Regions from separate parts of the Homo sapiens genome. Here all the other regions are linked to region 3. Evidence: promoter capture Hi-C in 16 types of primary human blood cells and fetal thymus (Javierre and others, 2016). All regions are on one chromosome and are shown on one strand. The core of a region is centred on a gene start or on the middle of the fragment in contact, and the rest is flanking DNA. Distances in the headings are between cores, read along the strand shown.

Region 1 (3,019 bases), core at 314-2,813, 540 kb after region 3:
TCCCCTCCCCAGAAATTATTCAGGGAAATTATTTCTAGCAACCAAAGCCCAGGCACATGTGTGACATATGGATACATGTAGATTGTCTCCAAGTGCTCACTCTTCGGTGGTATTTTTAGTATAAATTCCCTAATTCTACATCTTGTTTGTTCTAAATGCCTACATTCTCTTCCAAAGTAGTAATGTTTGTTTTTGTTTTTTAACTTTGAGAATTTTGTTCAGCAATTTGAAATGATGAAAAACCCTGTGCATGGTAAAGTTATGCTTGAATATCCTTTCTTATATCAATTTGGCATCATTAATTCATTCAACAAATATTTAATGAGCACCTACTATATTTTAGATTCTATACTAACTGCTAATACTACTACTGCGAATAAAACAGACAGACATTCCTGGATCCCTGAAGCATACATTTTAGTGAAGGGAATCACAATAAACAATGTAAACAAAATATGTGTATTATGTTGGATGATTATAAGTGCCAGGAAAAAAAATAAAGAATGGTGATTTTCTTTTTGATTCAGTGATCTTTTGAATACACAATCTACGAAAGCCTTCAGGGAGAGAGGAAGAAGATGTAAATGGGGCATTTAGACAATGAAGTGTTCAGTAGGATTAGAACTCTGAGTTAGGCCTGTGACCAGGGAGTAAGGAAGTAGCATGGAAGATGTAGAGCATCGTGGCGTCTCTGTACAGGACACAACTTTTCATAACTTTCTCCAAGGAAGTAATAGGCAAGACACATGACACAGAGCAATGTATCTGTGTGAGATACAATTGCTATTAACTCAGCTTTACTCCACAAACAGATTATAGAAAGTACATACTACAGAGAGCTGGATTCTATCAGTTATACAGAAGGAAAATATACATTTTTTTCTATATAACTGATGAAGCCGCCTGATAACTCTAAGTTACTCTTCATGCTTACAACATGAGGTGTAAAGCTACAGAACTGGAGTTCTGTACTGGAGTGAGATACTGAGAAGCAACACTTAATTCTCCAAGATTTCTTGAAGTATGTGCTGCACCAAGTTTTATGTTCCTTCTCTACAAATACTAGAAACTGAGCTATCATTTCCAAGCAGGGCACCTGAAATGCCCTTAACCATGAGAAGAACTTGGAGAACCTACAAACGACCCATATCGTTGGTGACCAAGAGAGCTGAGGGGAAGAATTCTCATATGGTAAATATCAGGTTGCTCTCTTAGGTGGAGATGAAGGACTTTTCAGAGAATCAGACAGCAGATGTCAGTCATTGATGACCTGTTTGATGTGGACACCTAGAAATGAATATCTTCAAATAAGGCATCATGTAAGCTGAACAGGTATTTGATTCCAGAATGGTAGAGCTGAATGGTCTTAACCAAACTGGATGATCAATTCTCATGATGCCAGGGCTCAGAGTAAAGTATGGAGTTCCAGAAGCCAAAAAGTACAAATATTAAAGCTTACTCTCTTAGACCACTGGGTAGATAATTCATTTCCCAATGAAGGATCTCATTTGTTCATGTATTCAAATAATCATAAGTGCTTACAAATTACCTGTGCCAGGTACTTTGCTAGCTGTTGGAAAGACAAAGGTGAGCAAAAATTAACGTGTATCTTGCCCTTACAGAGTTTATAGTTATAACTATAATTCTAACAAAGGCCATTAAGGAAAGCTTGAGACGGTGCTGTGGCTCATGCCTATAATCGTAGCACTTTGGGAAGCCGGGTCAGGGGAATCGCTTGACTTCAGGAGTTTGAGACCAGCCTGAGCAACATAATGAGACTTCTCTACAAAAAAATTTTAAAAAATTATCCAGGCATGGGGTGCATGCCCGTAGTCCCAGCTACTCAGGAGGCTGAGGTGTGAGGATTGCTGGAGCCCAGGAGATCAAGGCAGCAGTGGGCCATGATTACACCACTGAACTCCAACCTGGGCAACAGAGCAAGACCCTGTCTCAAAAAAAAAAAAAAAAAAAAGATAGAGAGAGAGACTAAGGATTCAAGGTTTTTTTTAAAGTCATTAGTAATTTTGATTTTTATTCAAAGATCAGTTGCAAATCTATTACAGGTTTTTAAGTAGGAGATTTGAATTTTGAAATGATCACTCTGGCTGGGCGCGGTGGCTCACGCCTGTAATCCCAGCACTTTGGGAGGCCAAGGTGGGCGGATCACGAGGTCAGGAGATCGAGACCATCCTGGCTAAAACAGTGAAACCCCGTCTCTACTAAAAATACAAAAAATTAGGTGGGCGTGGTGGCAGGCGCCTGTAGTCCCAGCTACTCGGGAGGCTGAGACAGGAGAATGGTGTGAACCCAGGAGGCGGAGCTTCCAGTGAGCCGAGATCGCGCCACTGCACTCCAGCCTGGGCGACAGAGCGAGACTCTGCCTCAAAAAAAAAAAAAAAAAAAGAAAAAGAAAAGATCACTCTGGATGTTCATGGACAGAAGATTGTAGATGGATAGGAGGGGTTCAGAGACACCATTTAGAAGGCTGTTGCAGTAGTTTCAGGCAAGAGATAACAGTTGCTTTGACCAGGGAAGTAAGCCACTTACTTAGCAGAATTGCTTTTGAAGTGAACTTTGTAATCAGCATTGTTCTTCGGCCTCCATCTCTTTCCCACCATTCCCCCATTTACTTTGTGTTTGTTGTTGTTTTGTTTGTTTTTGAGGCTCCAGGCTGGAGTGCAGTGGCACGATCTTGGCTTACTGCAACCTCCGCTTCCCGTGTTCAAGTGGTTCTCGTGCCTCAGCCTCCTGAGTAGCTGGGACTACAGGCACATGCCACGCCCAGCTAATTTTTGTATTTTTAGTAGAGATGAGGATTCGCCATGTTCACCAGGCTGGTCTCAAACTCTCGGCCTCAAGTGATCCGCCAGCCTTGGCCTCCCAAAATGCTGGGATTACAGGCATGAGCCACCATGCCTGGCTCCCCATCTACTTTTAAAACTTGTTTACGGCTGGGCATGGAGGCTCACGCTGGTAATCCCAGCACTTTGGGAGGCCGAGATGGGGGGATCACCTGAGG
Region 2 (3,219 bases), core at 157-2,656, 570 kb before region 3:
TTTTGAGACAGAGTTTCGTTCTTATTGCCCAGGCTGGAGTGCAATGGCATGATCTTGGCTCACTGCGACCTCTGCCTCCTGGGTTCAAGAGATTCTCCTGCCTCAGCCTCCTAAGTAGCTGGGACTATAGGCGAGTGCCACCACACCCAGCTAATTTTGTATTTTTAGTAGAGGTGGGGTTTCATCATGTTGGCCAGGCTGGTCTCTTAACTCCTGACCTTGGGTGATCCACCCGCCTCAGCCTCCCAAAGTGCTGGAATTACAGGCGTGAGCTACTGCGCCCGGAATGAATGGAGGCAATTTAACAAAAATTCAATCAATTTGCCCCTCCTTCCACCTCAAAATACAGCTTTACTATTCCTGCCATCTGAGAGAAAGATCATCTTTTCTAAGGATAACCCATCTTTGGATTTTTGATTCCAGATACTTCCATGTGCTCTGTTAGGGGATGATGATGAAAATGTTTTGAGATTAGGAGCTGGGCATGGCACCACAGTAGTCCCAGCTGCTCAGGAGGCTGAGGTGAGAGGACTGCTTAAGCCTAGGAGTTCTAAACCAGCCTGGGCAACATAGTGACACCTCATCTCTTGGGGGGAAAAAAAAACAAAAAAAGTAGTAGAAGTAGTGGTGATGGAGGCCGGGTGCGGTGGCTCATGCCTTAAATCCCAGCACTTTGTGGGGCTGAGGCATCACCTCAGGTCAGGAGTTCGAGCCCTGCCTGGCCAACATGATGAAACCCCATCTCTACTAAAAATACAAAAAATTAGCTGGGTGGGGTGGCACACACCTGTAATCCCAGCTACTCGGGAGGCTGAGGTGGGAGAATCGCTTGAATCCAGGAGGCAGAGGTTAGAGTGAGCTGAGATCATGCCACTGCACTCCAGCCTCGGTAACAGAGCGAGACACTGAGACAGTCAGAAAAAAAAAAAAAAAAAGTAGTAGTGGTGATGGTTGTACAACTTTGTGAACTACACTAAGAATCACTGAATTATACACTTTAAAAGGATAAATTTTGGCCGGGCGCAGTGGCTCACGCCTGTAATCCCAGCACTTTGGGAGGCCAAGGCAGGCGGATCACGAGGTCAGATCGAGACCATCCTGGCTAACAAGGTGAAACCCCACCTCTACTAAAAATACAAAAATTAGCCGCGTGTGATGGCAGGCGCCTGTAGTCCCAGCTACTCAGGAGGCTGAGGCAGGAGAACGGCGTGAACTCAGGAGGCGGAGCTTGCAGTGAGCCGAGATTGTGCCACTGCACTCCAGCCTGGGTGACAGAGCAAGACTCCGTCTCAAAAAAAAAAAAAAAACGATAAATTTTATGGTATGGAAATTATATGTCATTTAAAAAAATAAGGAATTAGCAACGTTTCACAGGCCAATTTATACTGAAGTCAGTGGTTGTGTGTTTTGTTATTAGACTTCGGTTATATATTTCTTGTCTCATTCCTCTAATGATTAGGAGCTACAAAGCCTATGTTTTACCCACTAGCAGATCAAGGCAAATGCAAAAATCTACCCAAGGTCAATGTCCTTAGTTCATATTCAAGATTCTGACAGAAGTACCAAAACAATGTTTAGACAACAATATCAAGTTATTCAATCACATCTCACCATCAGGTATTTTTTCTCCTCTTGGTCCTGGCACATTGAGATGGCATCTTGTGGTGGAATCATATTCCAAAGTCCATCACTCCCCAATATAATATACTTGTGCTTCTGAGGGTCAAGAGTGTGGACACTTGTGTCTGGTTCAGGTGACACCACAAATTCACCACTGAAGAAATCATAGCTCCACAAATCACCTGGGGGAAGGGAGCAGAAAAAGCAAGAAGTATTAGTTGGAAGCTAATAGTACAACAGCAACAGATTAAAAGAGAAAATCTACACAGTTCATCTCAATAGACGCAGAAAAGCATTTGATAACATTCAAACTCCTCTCATGATAAGATTTCCTAGCAAACTAAGAATAAAAGGGAACTCCCTTAACCTGATAAAGTATATCCACCAGAATTCTGTAATAATCATCTTAAAGGTAAAATGTTAAAAGTATTCCCTTTAAAATGTAGAAATAAGAAAACTATGCCTTGTATCATTGCTTCTCTTCTAATACTATACTGAGTCCTTCCCAGCACAGTAAGATAATAAAAATAAAGTATATACAAAATGGAAAGGAGAAAATAATACTAATATTATTTGCAGATAATTTCATTTATACATGGAAAACCAAAAATAAATTATTACAATAGAAAAGTTTAGCAAAGTTGTTAAATACAAACCCAATATATAAGTCAACGTATTTCTATATGATAGCAAGACATAGAAAATATAAATGTTTAAATAATCCAATTTTAACAATGAACCAAATGTAAGGAACTTAGGAACAACTTTAACAAACGGTATACATGCCTGTTATGAAGATTATAGATTCTATTTTGAAACATTAAAAAGATAATCTAAATAAATGAAGTAACCAATCAGATTCATAGATAGCAATACTTACTATAATAAAGATGTCAATTATTCCCAAAATAATCTACAAAGTCAATGTAATTCTAACCAAAATCCCAAAAGGATTGTTGTAGAATTTGACAGGCTAAGCGCAAAGGGCCAAGATTAATCAAGATAATTTTGAAGAAAAAGGACAAGATGAGAACTTATCCTACAAACAGAAGTACCAATGGCTGTTTGCAAACTTCCTGTTAATCTCTAGATCAGTAAAGTACCTACATCAAAACTTACAGAACAAGTACCAGTCACTTGCAAGAAAATTCAAAATATAAAAATGAGCATTGTAATGCTCTTTACCAACCATATGACCAAACTTTGGAGAGCAACAGTTCTCCCTTTCACTGAGCCGGAAAAAGAAAGCTCTTACATTTATCCTTCTCCTTGATTAGCTCCACATAAAAACAATGCCTAAACTTCTGCCTTTAGACCTATTAGATACAAACATCAAAATGTTCAAGAGACAATAACTTTTAGTCGACCCAGGCCATAAAAAAGATCAATAAAACTAAAACAGAAGAAAATAAAAATGATTTATAGAAACCATCTACTTTTCTGTAATATATAAGACAACATAAATGAAACAATATAAATTTTTCTTCTGTTTCCAATAAATGTGGAAGAGGAGACAGAAAGGAGAAAACATTAATTTCTGCCTCTTTTGTTTATTGTGAACTATTTAAGGGAAAGGCCTAAATTAAAAGCAAAAGATTT
Region 3 (3,029 bases), core at 476-2,975:
TAAATGCTTTTCCTCTCTGTTCCTCAGAAGAAGGGTTTTGAGAGCTTCACAAGGCTTCTCAGAAACTCCTGAGGACTGAACAATCAGTCACCCCTTGCAATGGCCAACTCAATAGCACATATTGGTATTAATTCTCCTTCCTTCCCTGTTCATTTCTGGATAAATCCCTCACCTATCAACCTCATCTGAGGCTCTGCTATCAGGGAACCCAGATTAAAATATCCAACGACTAGGTTTCAGCTCCTGATCTTCTCTGAACAAATGCTTGAATACATTTCTTTACACGAATACACACACACACATGCACATATATAACGCACATATGTACACAGACTAGGAATAAGAAATAATATACCAGCACAACGGAATCTAAATCCAAACAAAAAAATTAACATTTCTCCCCAAGCCCAAAGTCTTCAGAAAACTACCTCTGCTAAAGCATACCCCCAATTTTCACTGCTGAACAGAAATGTTTTGTTCTCAGGATAAAACATACATTCAGGTGACTTCAAGGTTTTCCCTAAGGGCCAAGGGTGAGGATTTGCTTTATATTTGCATAACTCAAAGGCCCTAGAGATGGTTTTCCCAATCTGCCCAACTGTGAAAGTCAAGCCTTCACTTCCTGGATGACTGAAAAGTGATCACAGATTTTTAAATGGCCATTTTATTCTCCAGCTTCTTGACTTCAAGGTTTCAGAAAATCTTGGGGTGTCTCATTTCAACCCGGTCACTCTTAGGCAGATTATATTTTACATGATTCAGTTAAACTCCAAAATTACTCTTCTAGTGGGGCGAGGTGCCTCATGATCCATGAGAGGATTCACACTGGGAAAAAGGGAGAAAAAGGAACCAAGAGTACAGCCAGCTGTCACTTAAGTAGGGAAAGCTGCCTTATATTCCACTGACCAGATTGCAATCACAGAGCCACAGCCAACTGCAAGGAATGCTAGGGAACGTAGCCTTTATTCCGGGTGGTTTTGTGCCTGGGGAAAGATTTTAGAAGAGTAGAAGGGTGCCTTAGAACTAGCGGTTTCTGCTACTGCCATCCACAGCATACCCTCTCCAACTCCAGCCCGAATCTGAAACTCTAGTACGGAACAGAGTACCTTCAGCCCTGTCCAGGAACAAACTCTGGGAGGACAAACTTTCTGGAAGCACAAATTGAGAACTCACTTTTCAGTCAGGGCTCAAGAAGGAGTGGCCGGCGAAAAATCTCCAAGCCAATTTCTTTCTTTTTTTTTTTTTCTGAGACGGAGTCTCGCTCTGTCGCCCAGGCTGGAGTGCAGTGGCGCGATCTTGGCTCATTGCAAGCCCTGCCTCCCGGGTTCACGCCATTCTCCTGCCTCAGCCTCCCGAGTAGCTGGGACAACAGGCGCCCGCCACCACTCCCGGCTAATTTTTTTTTTTTTTTTTTTTTTGTATTTTTAGTAGAGACGGGGTTTCACCGTGTTAGCTAGGATGGTCTCGATCTTCTGACCTCGTGATCCGCCCGCCTCGGCCTCCCAAAGTGCTGGGATTACAGGCGTCAGCCACCGAGCCCGGCCTCCAAGCCAATTTCTGACAAGCATCTGCAGGGTACCGGTCGGAGGAGTCCCGTAGTCATGGAAACCCCTCTGAGCCCCAGTCCGGTCTAAAAAAGGTACTTTCGGAACTAGAGCGCGCGGAACGGGAGGATGTCCCGGAAGTATTTCCCTGGGATCACCCCACCCACCCCCCCCGCCCGTAGAAAAGATGGCTGCTGTGCAAGTTGTCGGTTCGTGGCCTTCCGTGCAGCCGCGGGAGGCACCGCGGGAAGCAATCCCTGAGCGAGGCAATGGGTTTCGCCTCTTGTCTGCCAGGCTCTGCGCCCTGCGCCCGGATGACAGCAGCTCCGCCCGCACCGAGATCCACCTGCTCTTCGATCAGCTCATCTCCGAGAACTACAGCGAGGGCAGTGGCGTGGCCCCGGAGGTAGGCGGCGCGCCCTGCTGGCCCCGGCCCCGGCCCCACCCCTCCGGGAACCCAGCTGGTGGCCTCTGCCTGCCTTTCCCTGATCTTCCCACTCTCGCGCCTGATGATTTAGTTTCAGGATGGCGTGCCCCCTCCAACCTTGGCACATTCTTAGTTCTCCATTTGGAAGACCCTGCAGTGCTTGGCACGCTCGAGTCATTCAAAACCCAACTTGACGACTCCTGCTCTGATAATGCCTCGGGTTTCCTCTCTGATACCAACTTTCCATCCGCCCGCACCCTCCTTCACTCCCTCTCTGTGCACCCAGAACACTTGGTTGACAAAATGCATTACTACTGTTTATTGCGTACATGGTACACGGACCACGTGGGAATCTTAGAACTTGCGTAGTATTAGGGCTTGTTTGCTAATGAAAATACTGAAGCTCGTAAAAATACAGTATACAAAACTCTGCCACAAAGCCCCTATGTTTTCTGTTCCTACACACTAGCTCCTCCCCTCTGCCGTCTTTCTGAGTAATCTTACACACATCAGGCCTTAAATTAATGAATTCTCTGAACTGTTGACACCATGGCCTTCTGGCCCTACGTAGGAAAGAGGGAAGTGGTGCAAGTTGCCTGCTTGCACAGGCATCTCAAACTAGACAGTTCCTAAAGATGAAATTCATTAGCTCCAAACACGCATTCCCGTCCCCAGTCCATCCCACCTTCCAACACACATGCATCATCCACCAAGTCACACCAGACACAAACACTGGTTCTTCCCTCCTTCATCCCAGATCCTGACCAACTCAGGTATTTCAGAATGTGTCTCATATATATTTCTCAGTTCATCCCCTCCTGTCTATTCCCATAGCGAGTGCCTTAGACCTCAGGCAAGGCGACTTATGCCTGGACTGTTCGCTGATCCCCTCTGACTGATCTCCTGCCTCCTGTCTAGCTCCTCTCCAAGCCAGTCATTCCTCCAATGCCAGAATGATCTTTTCTTTAGGAGGAAAAAAAATTGTTCATAAACTTTAAAATCTGCTTTGGAAAAGTCTTCAATACGTATTGGTAAATGGTTGAAGCAAGTTGCAGGAC
Region 4 (3,059 bases), core at 107-2,606, 520 kb before region 3:
CCAGTTTTTAAGAGGTAACAACACGTTCCGCGTTTTTAGTTTTCATAAGCAGTACAGGTTTATGATCCTAAAAACATCTCACCATCATTACAACGGAATTCCTTCCAAAACTTTAAGTTGCCGGATGGTTACGTTTCAGCCCTTCTAAATTAGCTTACGCTTTACTCCAGCAACCAACCCCAGCAATCCCGGGTCAATCTGGAGAACTGACACCACCGGTAGGAGGCAACCGAGAGGGATAAGACTTTCAGGAGCAGAATTATGACAGATTCTCTAAGGAAACACTACAGTTTTTCCTTCGCCTGGCCCAGGTGCAACATCGATTTATCTTTTGGCCAAAATCTGGCGCCAGGTTTCAAACACGTTTCCTCTGGTTGCCACCAAAGTGAAGCAGGGAAGGGAGTGGACTGCTTCCCATTGATCCTTGGAGGATGGAAATAAAGCAAGAATAGGCTGCAGGGAGACGGCAATCCTATCTTCCCCAAGGCCGCTTGGTTTGCCCGGACCTCCACCCAGCAAAGCGCTATTACAGCTTTTAGTCACTTCCATCAGTGTATACTTTGGTTGCGCTCTGGGTGCCGGGGGCCCACGCGGGGCTGGTGCCATAAAAGCCCTGAACTGCCTGAAAAAGGGGCGGGCGCCAAACAAGCCAGGGAACTTACCCAGTTTCTTCCACATGGCAAGGTGACAAGCGAGAAAGCCTTTGCGGATGGCAGCGCAAACCTTAGCCGGCTCGGACGAGGTGAAACCCTTCTGCTTCTTGATGAAACCCCACAAGTGCTCCCGGGCAAACTGTGCCGCCTCCCGCCCGCCGTGCCCGTCGCACACGGCGAAAAAGGCCACGGAGGAACGGCGGCGGCAGCAGCGGCTAGGTGCCGGCGAGGCCCCGGCGTCCGGGAGAGGGTCGCGAGCCTCTCGGGCTGCCACCGCTGGGCCTTTCCCCGAGACTTCGCCGCCGGGAAGGGCGGCCGGCGACGGCCGCGGAGGCAACGGCTGAGACAGCGACCGCCGCGGCGAGGGCTTTTCTTCAGCCGTCGGTTCGGGCTCCACAACGATTTGAGTAACGTCCTCCATGTACTTCCTCCCGCCCTGGTCGGAGAAGACGCTCACTCCCAGCGAGTACAGCCCCGCCATGGCCGGCTGGCCGGGATCCCGCCGGTCCCACGCAGCCCGCCGAATCCGGCGGCGGGAGACACACTAGGCGCTCGCCGGCCAACTATTGTTTATCTTCGACGACGCCGAGAAGGGGGAGGGGGCGGACCCGGAGAAGGGGGGGCGCGCGATGTCTGGACTTGTCCGCGAGAGCTGGGCCGGAGCGCCGGAGCGAGCAGAGCCAGGCAGTTGCGCCTGCGCACTGCGCTTCCCCCCACCGCCCGCGCCCACCACACAAATCAGGCGTTCTCCCCCGCTGACGTCACTCGGCTCTCTAAGCTCGACCAATCCGGAGTCGAGTGGAGCGAGCCCGCCCTCCGTCCCCGCCTTCGCTCCCGCCTGCGACGGCCGCGCTGCCTCCTCCCGCCGCTGGCGCTGGGCCCGCGCATCTCCTAGTTTGCTTCCCCTACGCCGCGGGCGTTTTCGCCCTCCGGGTTGTCGGCAGTTGTTGATCCTTTCCCGAGCGGCTTGGTCTGTGTAGGCTTTTGGCTCAGTCCAGCGTTCTTAATGCGGCCTGCTGGCCTTGGCGTCCCGCTGCTTGCTTTGCTAGGAAGGTGGTGTGGGCTCGGGCCCCCAGCGAGTGGAGAATGAAGGGAGAAGAGTTCACCCTCCTCCTAAGCGAAATGGCGGGAAACCTCCCTTCCAAAGGGCGATTGTGAGCTGGCCGGAACAAGTGCTGCACCCTTGAGCTGGATCTGGGTGGGACGTATTCGACTGGGAATGGAGGAGGGAGGGAGTCCAGTTCTGTTGTTTAAAAAGCACTTAGGAAATTTCCACCGTCAGCTGCACAGTCTCGGTTCACATAACTAGGTATGTCAGAGACGTAAGAGGGCTGTATTCTAACGAATTCCTAGGCAGATCTTTTCAGCTTTTGTTAAAGGTAGTGCTCGTTCCGACCAGCTCTGGATACAGCATTTTATTCCTGCGGTATCACTTCAAGTTATCACTTGAAAATAACTGACAAACACTGCCAAGAGCCCCAGTGCTCTAACGGTTTGGTGATCGTCCCCTCTCTTCACCGAGTCGGTCACAATCCCAACGCTAAAACCTTTGCACGGATTTTCATGGAGTTAAGCCGCAGAGCGAGGAATACACTAGTATTTGCTCAGTAGCATACGTTTTGTAGTTGAATCACTTTAAAGTTCACTTTTCCCGTTTTTGGCCATTTCTTCATCAATCTGTACTTTCCTGTAAAACCTTTGAGATTTTCAAATGGCCTAAAAACAGTATGGAAACGGGAATGGGGGGAATGTACATACAGTTGGCACAAGAAATAAAAATAGAAAAAATCTTTATATCAATAAAAATATAAATAAGCAAAATCAGCTCAAGAAAATGTAGAAAATCTGAATAGATCAACTAAGTAAAAATAAATACAATTGAAGATATTCATTACCCCAAAAAGCACTAGACCAGATGGTTCCAGGGCATGGAAACGCTTGAAAAAAAAAATCCCAGCTTGTTTGGAGAGGTAATCATAACCCTGTTAGTAAAACCTAAGCATTATGAACACTAAAAGGAAACCTACAGACCCTGTTTTGTAACGATGAATACAAAAATCCTAAATGAAATATTAGCATTGTAATTAGGGAGCAGCCTCCATATCACAAGAACGGTTTGTGTAGCTCTATATTATTCATCTTACCGTTCACCACGTTTGACCCAAGAGATTACCAAAAGATAATTCCATCATGCTTTATAATCCTTTCCACCTCAATCACAACCAGTAGGATCTGCGTCATCCGTTTATTGCTCTAGTATCTCCATGCTACTCTCTGCTTCAATTACTCTGATTCCATATCCCACTCTTCACCAAATATCCTAACCATTTCACTTCACACTTTTGATTTCAACATCTGCCATCAACCACTTCCCCTTTATTCTTAGCCTCTTCTGTAAATGTTCCC
Region 5 (3,472 bases), core at 463-2,962, 550 kb before region 3:
AATCAAAACATTAGAGATGGTCTCTCAAACTATGCCTGGCATGACCGAAATGAGCTTTACTTCAAATGGGAATTGATTTTTTAAATTTAATTTTTATTAATTTAAACAGCCATTTGTGGCTAGTGGTGAGTATACTGAACAGTCCAGAGGAAGACTGAAACAAGTAGAGAATGACCAGAAAACATTGTGGGTGTTAACAAAGAAGAGAAATTCCAGAAAGTTGCTCATTCACCATCCCCCCACCCTTTTTTTTTTGGAGACAGTCTCGCTCTGTTACCTAGGCTGGAGTGCAGTGGTGTGATCTTAACTCACTGCAGCCTCAGCCTCCTGAGTAGCTAGGATTACAGGCACCCGCCACAATGCCCGGCTAATTTTTTTATTTTTAGTAGAGACGGGGTTTAACCATATTAGCCAGGCTGGTCTCGAACTCCTGGCCTCAAGTAATCTGCCTGCCTCAGCCTCCCAAAGTGCTAGTCTTACAGGCATGAGTCACCATGCCCAGCCTACCATCCCTTTTGAGAACTAGTTTTCATTTGGTTTTGAGACAGGGTGTCGTTCTGTTGCCCAGGCTGCAGTGCAGTGGTGTGATCGTGGCTCACCACAGCTTTGACTTCCCAGGCTCAAGTGATGCTCCCACCTCAGCTTCCCAAATAGCTGGGACCAAAGGCATGTAATTTTTTTGTAGAGAACAGATCTCACTATGTTTGCCAGGCTGGTCTTAAACTCCTGGGCTCAAGCCATCCTCCCATCCGGGCCTCCCAACATGCTGGGATTACAGGCGTGAGCCACCATGCCCAGCCAAGAACTAGTTTAAATAAGTTCTGATATAAATAGGTTGATCATAACAAGAGTTAAAATATCAAAGGCATTCATTTTGTTGTATTAAGCTTTCTTCAATGATGACTCTCAAAAGTCAACAGCAGAGTAAAGACTAAACTTGCCATTCACAAGAATCCATGAAACACAAGAGTTATAAGATGCCAACATTCTGCCTTAATACCATCTTAAAGCTCTATTATTCTTTGCTAAACCTTCTCCTTACAAGGTAAGGCTTAGTACCTAAGTAATTTACAGTAGCTGCTTCCAACATAACTAGACGAGCAGCTCTCTCGACACTTAATATTCAAAGATATTATGATCTGTGTTTCTGAGAAACAAAAAGACAAATAATGATACTGGTTAAAACATAGAAGTTTCAACATCTAGTAACAAAAAACCAAAGCAATGTTATAAAAGATGCTTTTACTGCACTTCCTGTTGTTGTCCTATATGATTAAAAGGCATGTAAAAAGGAACAGCCTGACACGCAGAGAGCTGACTGAGCAGCAACAGAAGGCTGGAAAAACAAAATGCTGGCCCGTTGCCTAGGCCGGGACAGAGGGAAGCAAGGAAATAACTTATAATAAAATAGCTCAATTTTTGCAAAAAGTTACCTGCTCCAAAATAGCGGAGTATCTGCCCAACTGTCCAGATGGTGTTTTTGGTAATAAAGCCAAAAAACTCTTTCTAAAAACATTATTAAAATCAAATAAAATATAATTTTAAAATTCAAGTAAAAAAACAAACAAGAAAGAATAGTCAAGAAAGGTATTTTTAAAACACAAAAGGGTAATTTCTTCTGTAGAAAATAATTATTTCCTTTTTTGTTCATTTATTTTATTTATTTATAATTATAAAAAAATTTTTTAGAGATGGAGGTCCCGCTATGTTGAACAGGTTGGTCTCAAACTTCTAACCTCAAGTGATCCTCCCATCTTGGCCTCCAAAGCGCTAGGATTACAAGTGCCGCAGCCAGCTGCTTTATTTTATTTTATTTTTTTTGAGACAGTTTTCACTCTTGTTGGGCAGGCTGGAGTGCAGAGGCAGGATCTTGGCTCACTGCAACCTCTGCCTCCCAGGTTCAAGAGATTCTCCTCCCTCAGCCTCCCGAGTAGCTGGGATTACGGGAACATGCCACTACGCCTGGATAATATTTTTGTATTTTTAGTAGAGATAGGGTTTCGCCATGTTGGCCCGGCTTGTCTCGAACTCCTGACCTCCGGTGATCCGCCCGCCTCAGGCTCCCAAAGTGCTGGGATTATAAGCGTAAGCCACTGTGCCCGGCCCCAAGAAAAGTATTTTTTAAAAGGAAGATTAATGAGAAGGAATCAGGCCTACCAATATTTAAAATTATAATAAAGTCTCCGTTTTAAAAATTATAATACTGGTAAATAAGCAGGAAAAAAATTATAGCCCAGAAAAGACCCAAATATATGGAAGAATTCTGTTTATAATTTGCAAAGCCCACTTAGCATGACAACCAGCAGAGATGTCAGATATATTCTCACCTTCACAATCACAAGATCAAATAGACTATAGCCTGAAAGGAGGTTCATCTAACTTTGCAGAATACTGGGCAGGAAATAGAGTATGCCACCATAGCAGCTTCAAGGATATTGTCTTCAGCAGTGATTCAGACAGCCAGAAGCCATTTTTCCATCTCCCAAGTGATGGCTCAGTTGTAAGCAAGACGACAGGGTCTAGCTTAGGTAAGCTTCATGTGTCACAGAAACCAATGTAATAAATAGCACATGACTACAGTTTCTTGGTCCCTACACAAGACAAACTGCATGCATACAAGGAAGCCAAGGCCTGTGCTTCCGAATAGAAATGTACAGTCCATTCAACAACTTCCCTACCAAGATGCAATTCCATTCAGGGATCATTCTACAATAAGCAATGCTGTCTTACAACAGAGGTGATATTTCACATTTATCTTCACCAGAGAAATACAAGAAGAGGGTAAATTCAAGGTCATCTTCCCACTAAAGAAGGGTCTTAAGCCTGGTCACCCTGCTACTCAGTAATGAAAAGATGTATAATTATTCAAGTGGCTACTAGTAGCCATCTAGAAAAAAAGTTAACTTGCCTATTTACTACATAGCTTAGATCTTAAAATTCCAGAAGGATTAAAGATTAAAATATAAAAGATGATGAAACCATACGAGTACTGGCAAAGTGGTTCTCAAAATGTGGTTTAGGGGCCCCTGGCAGGTTACTACAGACTTTTTCAGGGTGTCTCCAAGGTCCATTTTTTTTTTTCATAATACTACTAAGACCACATGTATACAGTGGAGTTTTTTGAGAGGCTGCATGACTGGATATTATATAGTATAATAAAAAGTGTCAATATTTGCAAGATCTGTATAACTCAGTGACCTAGTATATTACAAACAATAAATGCATATATTAAAAAGTCATGCATAGGGGCTACATACTATATGGTTCCAACTATATGACATTCTGGAAAAAGCAAAATTATGAAGGCAGTAAAAAGAGCAGTGGTTGCCAGGAGTAAGTGGGGGAGGGATGAACAGACAAAGTACAGAGGACTCTTACGGTGATGAAACTAATCTGCATGATACTATAATGATGGATACGTGTCATGACGTATTTGTCAAAACCCATAAAATGTATAACACCCGGAGTGAAC
Region 6 (3,023 bases), core at 248-2,747, 600 kb before region 3:
TGCCTCAAATGTAGGAAACTTTCCCAGAAATTCCTGTTACACCAGAAAGGGAAAAAAGGAGGAAGTAGGTTTTTAATTTTTTTCAAATTATAATGAGGGGTTTGGGGGGTTATTATTATTTTTGAGATAGAGTCTCGCTCTGTCGCCCAGGCTGGAGTTCAGTGGCACGATCTCTGCTCATGGCAATCTCCGCCTCCCAGGCTCAAGCAATTCTCCTGCCTCAGCCTCCTGAGTAGCTGGGATTACAGGCGAGCGCCACCATGCCGAGCTAAATTTTATATTTTTTTGTAGCGACGGGGTTTCACCATGTTGCCAAGGCTGGTCTCGAACTCCTGAGCTCAAGCAATCCATCCGCCTTAGCCTCCCAAAGTGCTGGGATTATAGGCTTGAGCCACCGCGCCCATCCTGTTTTGTTTTTTAATAGGACCAGGTCTCAGAACCACAAAACAATGTAAGGAAGACTCCTGCTGTACCCCTTGGTCTGTTGTTAACATAAATTACAAGGGTGAGAGAACCAGATCATGGGATGGGAATTTACTGCAATTTTATGTTGAGATAGTGAAAATACACATGGTACAATATTTCAAGACCAAACGGAACAAGTGACATGATATCACTCTACCTTCCAATTAAACCTGTTGGGAATCTATGAGTAAATCACAATTTAAATCACATTCGTAACCCCCTGCTACTATAACAAATAAGTCAAGTAATTATTTGACTAGTAGCAAGTAGTCAAATAACTAACATAAACTAATACGTTGTTACAGCCCTTTACCCTTTCCCGTCACATCAGTAAATCCTGATCCTAGAATGTTTCATGACCCTCTGAATCACTGAGATTTTAAGAGCATGGAGTCGGCTTGGTTAAGGTTAAAAGAGGACTGACAGCAATATCAAAGATCTCTTACAGGGCTCAGGGAAGCCCACAACCTGGAACTCATCTTGAAGGCACCGAAAACCATTTTTAAGTAGGGAGCATTCACACCTGATGTGAAAACTCTAAACCTGTGCGCCCCACCTCCTACAACCAAAACACCCTCTGCCCCAAGGAGCAGAGCCACCACCTCCTCAGAGGATACCTGCACCTCCAGCCCCTCAGCCCTCTCATTCTCATCCCATTCTTGCTTTCTCGAACCACAGTCTCCCAAGCCCTGCCCTTTAAGGGCCCTGTCTCCTGGGGACGACCCTCGCCAGCCACTCAGGCCCCAGTCTCCTGAAAGACACTCGTACGGCGCTGCCCACTTAACCTCCAACACGGAGCCACCGCTGCCCCCGGCCGCCCTCCGGCCCCTTGCACTGTTCCCCTCCCCCTCCAGTATCGACACCTCTCTCCTGTCGAATTCCTGCCAGCCCGACCCAGTCCCCTCACGCCGCCAGTCCCTCGTCCTCCCCAAGCCTCCCCAAAGCCAAAGCCCTGCCAGCCCTCTCACCGGCCGCCCCGCCGGTTAACGCTAGTCTCCAGCTCTAGGCTCACTGTTTGGAGTCTCCCCGAGTGATTGACGGCAGCCACTTCCTACCACGCCTCAGCGGAACCACCCCCTCTAGCCAATCCCAGAAGCAAACCGGCTATGGCCGGGCACCGCCCTTGGAGGTCAGCTTCGCCAACCAGCAAGTAGGAAAGAGGCGGACCCGCCTTCTGAATGTGTCCAATCCGCTGGGGCTGGAGGGAAAACACAACAGCATGTAAGTTCGGGTGAAGCCGAGGTGTCAGGTTCGGTTGCAAACGCAGGCAGCTGGGGAATAATTACGAACATGTACATTTTTTTTGGAAGACAGAACCTTCGTGGCTTTGAAAAGAAAAGCAACATGATCCAGACTCCTGTCCCGCTCACGTGAGCGTTTCAGGTTGGAGCCGGAGGACAGGGAGACTGGTCTGTTTACATCGAATTCTCGCGACAGCTGGTTCCAAGCTCGGAGCACGTGGACATGGCAGCTGCCAATCACTTTTAGCTGGCCACTCACCCGTCCCACACCCGCCTTCTGCCCAGCCCTTGGCGATGTGTTTACCTTCCGGGAGCCTAGGCTGGCTCGCGCCGGCGATCAGCCGAGGAGGGGTTGATCTGAATAAGGGGCACGGCCGGTAATCTCAACAATTTGAGCTAGGTTTGTAGACCACTTCTTGCTTCAGTTTCCATCTCCCTTATTGTTGAAGATCGAGATCTCGCCATTGTCATTTCATCAGTTCATTTATTAATATAAGTAGAATAATACTGACTGACTTCTTGAACACTCAGCACAGGCCTTCGTATACTTCATATACAATACTCTAATGTATTATCAAATTTAATGCCAATGACAGGTCCGTGAGGGTATAGCTTATTAACAGGCGTGGTGGGCTGGGCGTGGTGGCTCACGCCTGCAATCCCAACATTTTGGGAAGCCTAGGCGGGAAGATCGCTTGAGGCCAGGAGTTCTAGAACAGCCTGGACAACATGAAGAAACCCCGTCTCTACTAAAAATAGCCAGGTGTGGTGGCCAATGCCTGTAATCCTAGCTACTGGGGAGGCTGAGGCGGAAGAATTGCTTGAACCCAGGAGGCGGAGATTGCAGTGAGCCTATAGATCACGCCATTGCCCTCCAGCACTTTAGCCTGGGTGACAGAGAGTCCCTCTCAAGACAGATAGATAGATAGATAGATAGATAGATAGATAGATAGATAGATACATACATACATACATACATACATACATACATACATACATACATAAAATTTTAAAAAATTTTAAAAAAAGAAATGAAAGAAAAGGCCGGGCACGGTGGCTCACACCTGTAATCCCAGCACTTTGGGAGGCTGAGAGGGGCAGATCACTTGAGGTCAGGAGGTCAAGACCAGCCTTGCCAACTTTGTGAAACTCTGTCTCTACTAAAAATACAAAAATCAGCGGGTTTTGATGGTGCACGCCTGTAATCCCAACTACTCAGGAGGCTGAGGCAGGAGAATCGCTTGAATCCGAGATGTGAAGGTTGCAGTGAGCCGAGATCGTGCAACTGCACTCCAGCCTCTGGGCGACAGAGCAAAA

What was found. The method cuts DNA at HindIII sites, captures the fragments that hold promoters and counts their contacts. A CHiCAGO score of 5 or more calls a contact.
Region 1: a fragment that was not itself captured here is called in contact with the fragment with the promoter of HEATR6 in region 3 in 1 of 17 cell types (activated CD4 T cells); the score reaches 5.5 in activated CD4 T cells.
Region 2: a contact is called between a fragment that was not itself captured here and the fragment with the promoter of HEATR6 in region 3, in 1 of 17 cell types (neutrophils). The highest score is 5.4, in neutrophils.
Region 4: the fragment with the promoter of PPM1D here is called in contact with the fragment with the promoter of HEATR6 in region 3 in 1 of 17 cell types (neutrophils); the score reaches 5.4 in neutrophils.
Region 5: a fragment that was not itself captured here is called in contact with the fragment with the promoter of HEATR6 in region 3 in 4 of 17 cell types (naive B cells, naive CD4 T cells, M0 macrophages and 1 more); the score reaches 7.8 in naive B cells.
Region 6: a contact is called between the fragment with the promoter of BCAS3 here and the fragment with the promoter of HEATR6 in region 3, in 5 of 17 cell types (naive CD8 T cells, fetal thymus, neutrophils and 2 more). The highest score is 10.9, in naive CD8 T cells.

Annotation. Positions count from the first base shown.
Region 1 is chr17:59,539,636-59,542,654 of GRCh38, reverse strand. All of the region lies in intron 2 of LOC105371847 (a long non-coding RNA gene), which reads right to left. Among named protein-coding and RNA genes, the nearest start is that of LINC01476, 14 kb to the right of the region's middle. The HindIII fragment of the contact is 214 bases long and covers 1,457-1,670 here.
Region 2 is chr17:60,646,475-60,649,693 of GRCh38, reverse strand. It overlaps PPM1D (protein phosphatase, Mg2+/Mn2+ dependent 1D), which reads right to left. Exons shown (of 6, transcript NM_003620.4): 4 at 1,612-1,802. Among named protein-coding and RNA genes, the nearest start is that of BCAS3, 30 kb to the left of the region's middle. The HindIII fragment of the contact is 3,769 bases long and covers 1-3,219 here.
Region 3 is chr17:60,077,617-60,080,645 of GRCh38, reverse strand. HEATR6 (HEAT repeat containing 6) reads left to right here and starts at 1,725. Exons shown (of 20, transcript NM_022070.5): 1 at 1,725-1,950. The coding sequence starts at 1,732. HEATR6-DT (HEATR6 divergent transcript) reads right to left here and starts at 1,337. Exons shown (of 2, transcript NR_135648.1): 1 at 1,174-1,337. RefSeq lists a silencer at 1,939-2,068. The HindIII fragment of the contact is 13,067 bases long and covers 1-3,029 here.
Region 4 is chr17:60,598,490-60,601,548 of GRCh38, reverse strand. It overlaps PPM1D (protein phosphatase, Mg2+/Mn2+ dependent 1D), which reads right to left and starts at 1,356. Exons shown (of 6, transcript NM_003620.4): 1 at 663-1,356. The coding sequence starts at 1,134. RefSeq lists enhancers at 1,237-1,286, 447-1,434, 1,435-2,423. The HindIII fragment of the contact is 9,172 bases long and covers 1-3,059 here.
Region 5 is chr17:60,628,389-60,631,860 of GRCh38, reverse strand. All of the region lies in intron 2 of PPM1D (protein phosphatase, Mg2+/Mn2+ dependent 1D), which reads right to left. Among named protein-coding and RNA genes, the nearest start is that of PPM1D, 30 kb to the right of the region's middle. The HindIII fragment of the contact is 1,646 bases long and covers 890-2,535 here.
Region 6 is chr17:60,676,325-60,679,347 of GRCh38, reverse strand. It overlaps BCAS3 (BCAS3 microtubule associated cell migration factor), which reads right to left and starts at 1,497. Exons shown (of 24, transcript NM_017679.5): 1 at 1,434-1,497. RefSeq lists enhancers at 1,456-1,605, 1,776-1,945 and a silencer at 1,364-2,117. The HindIII fragment of the contact is 12,302 bases long and covers 1-3,023 here.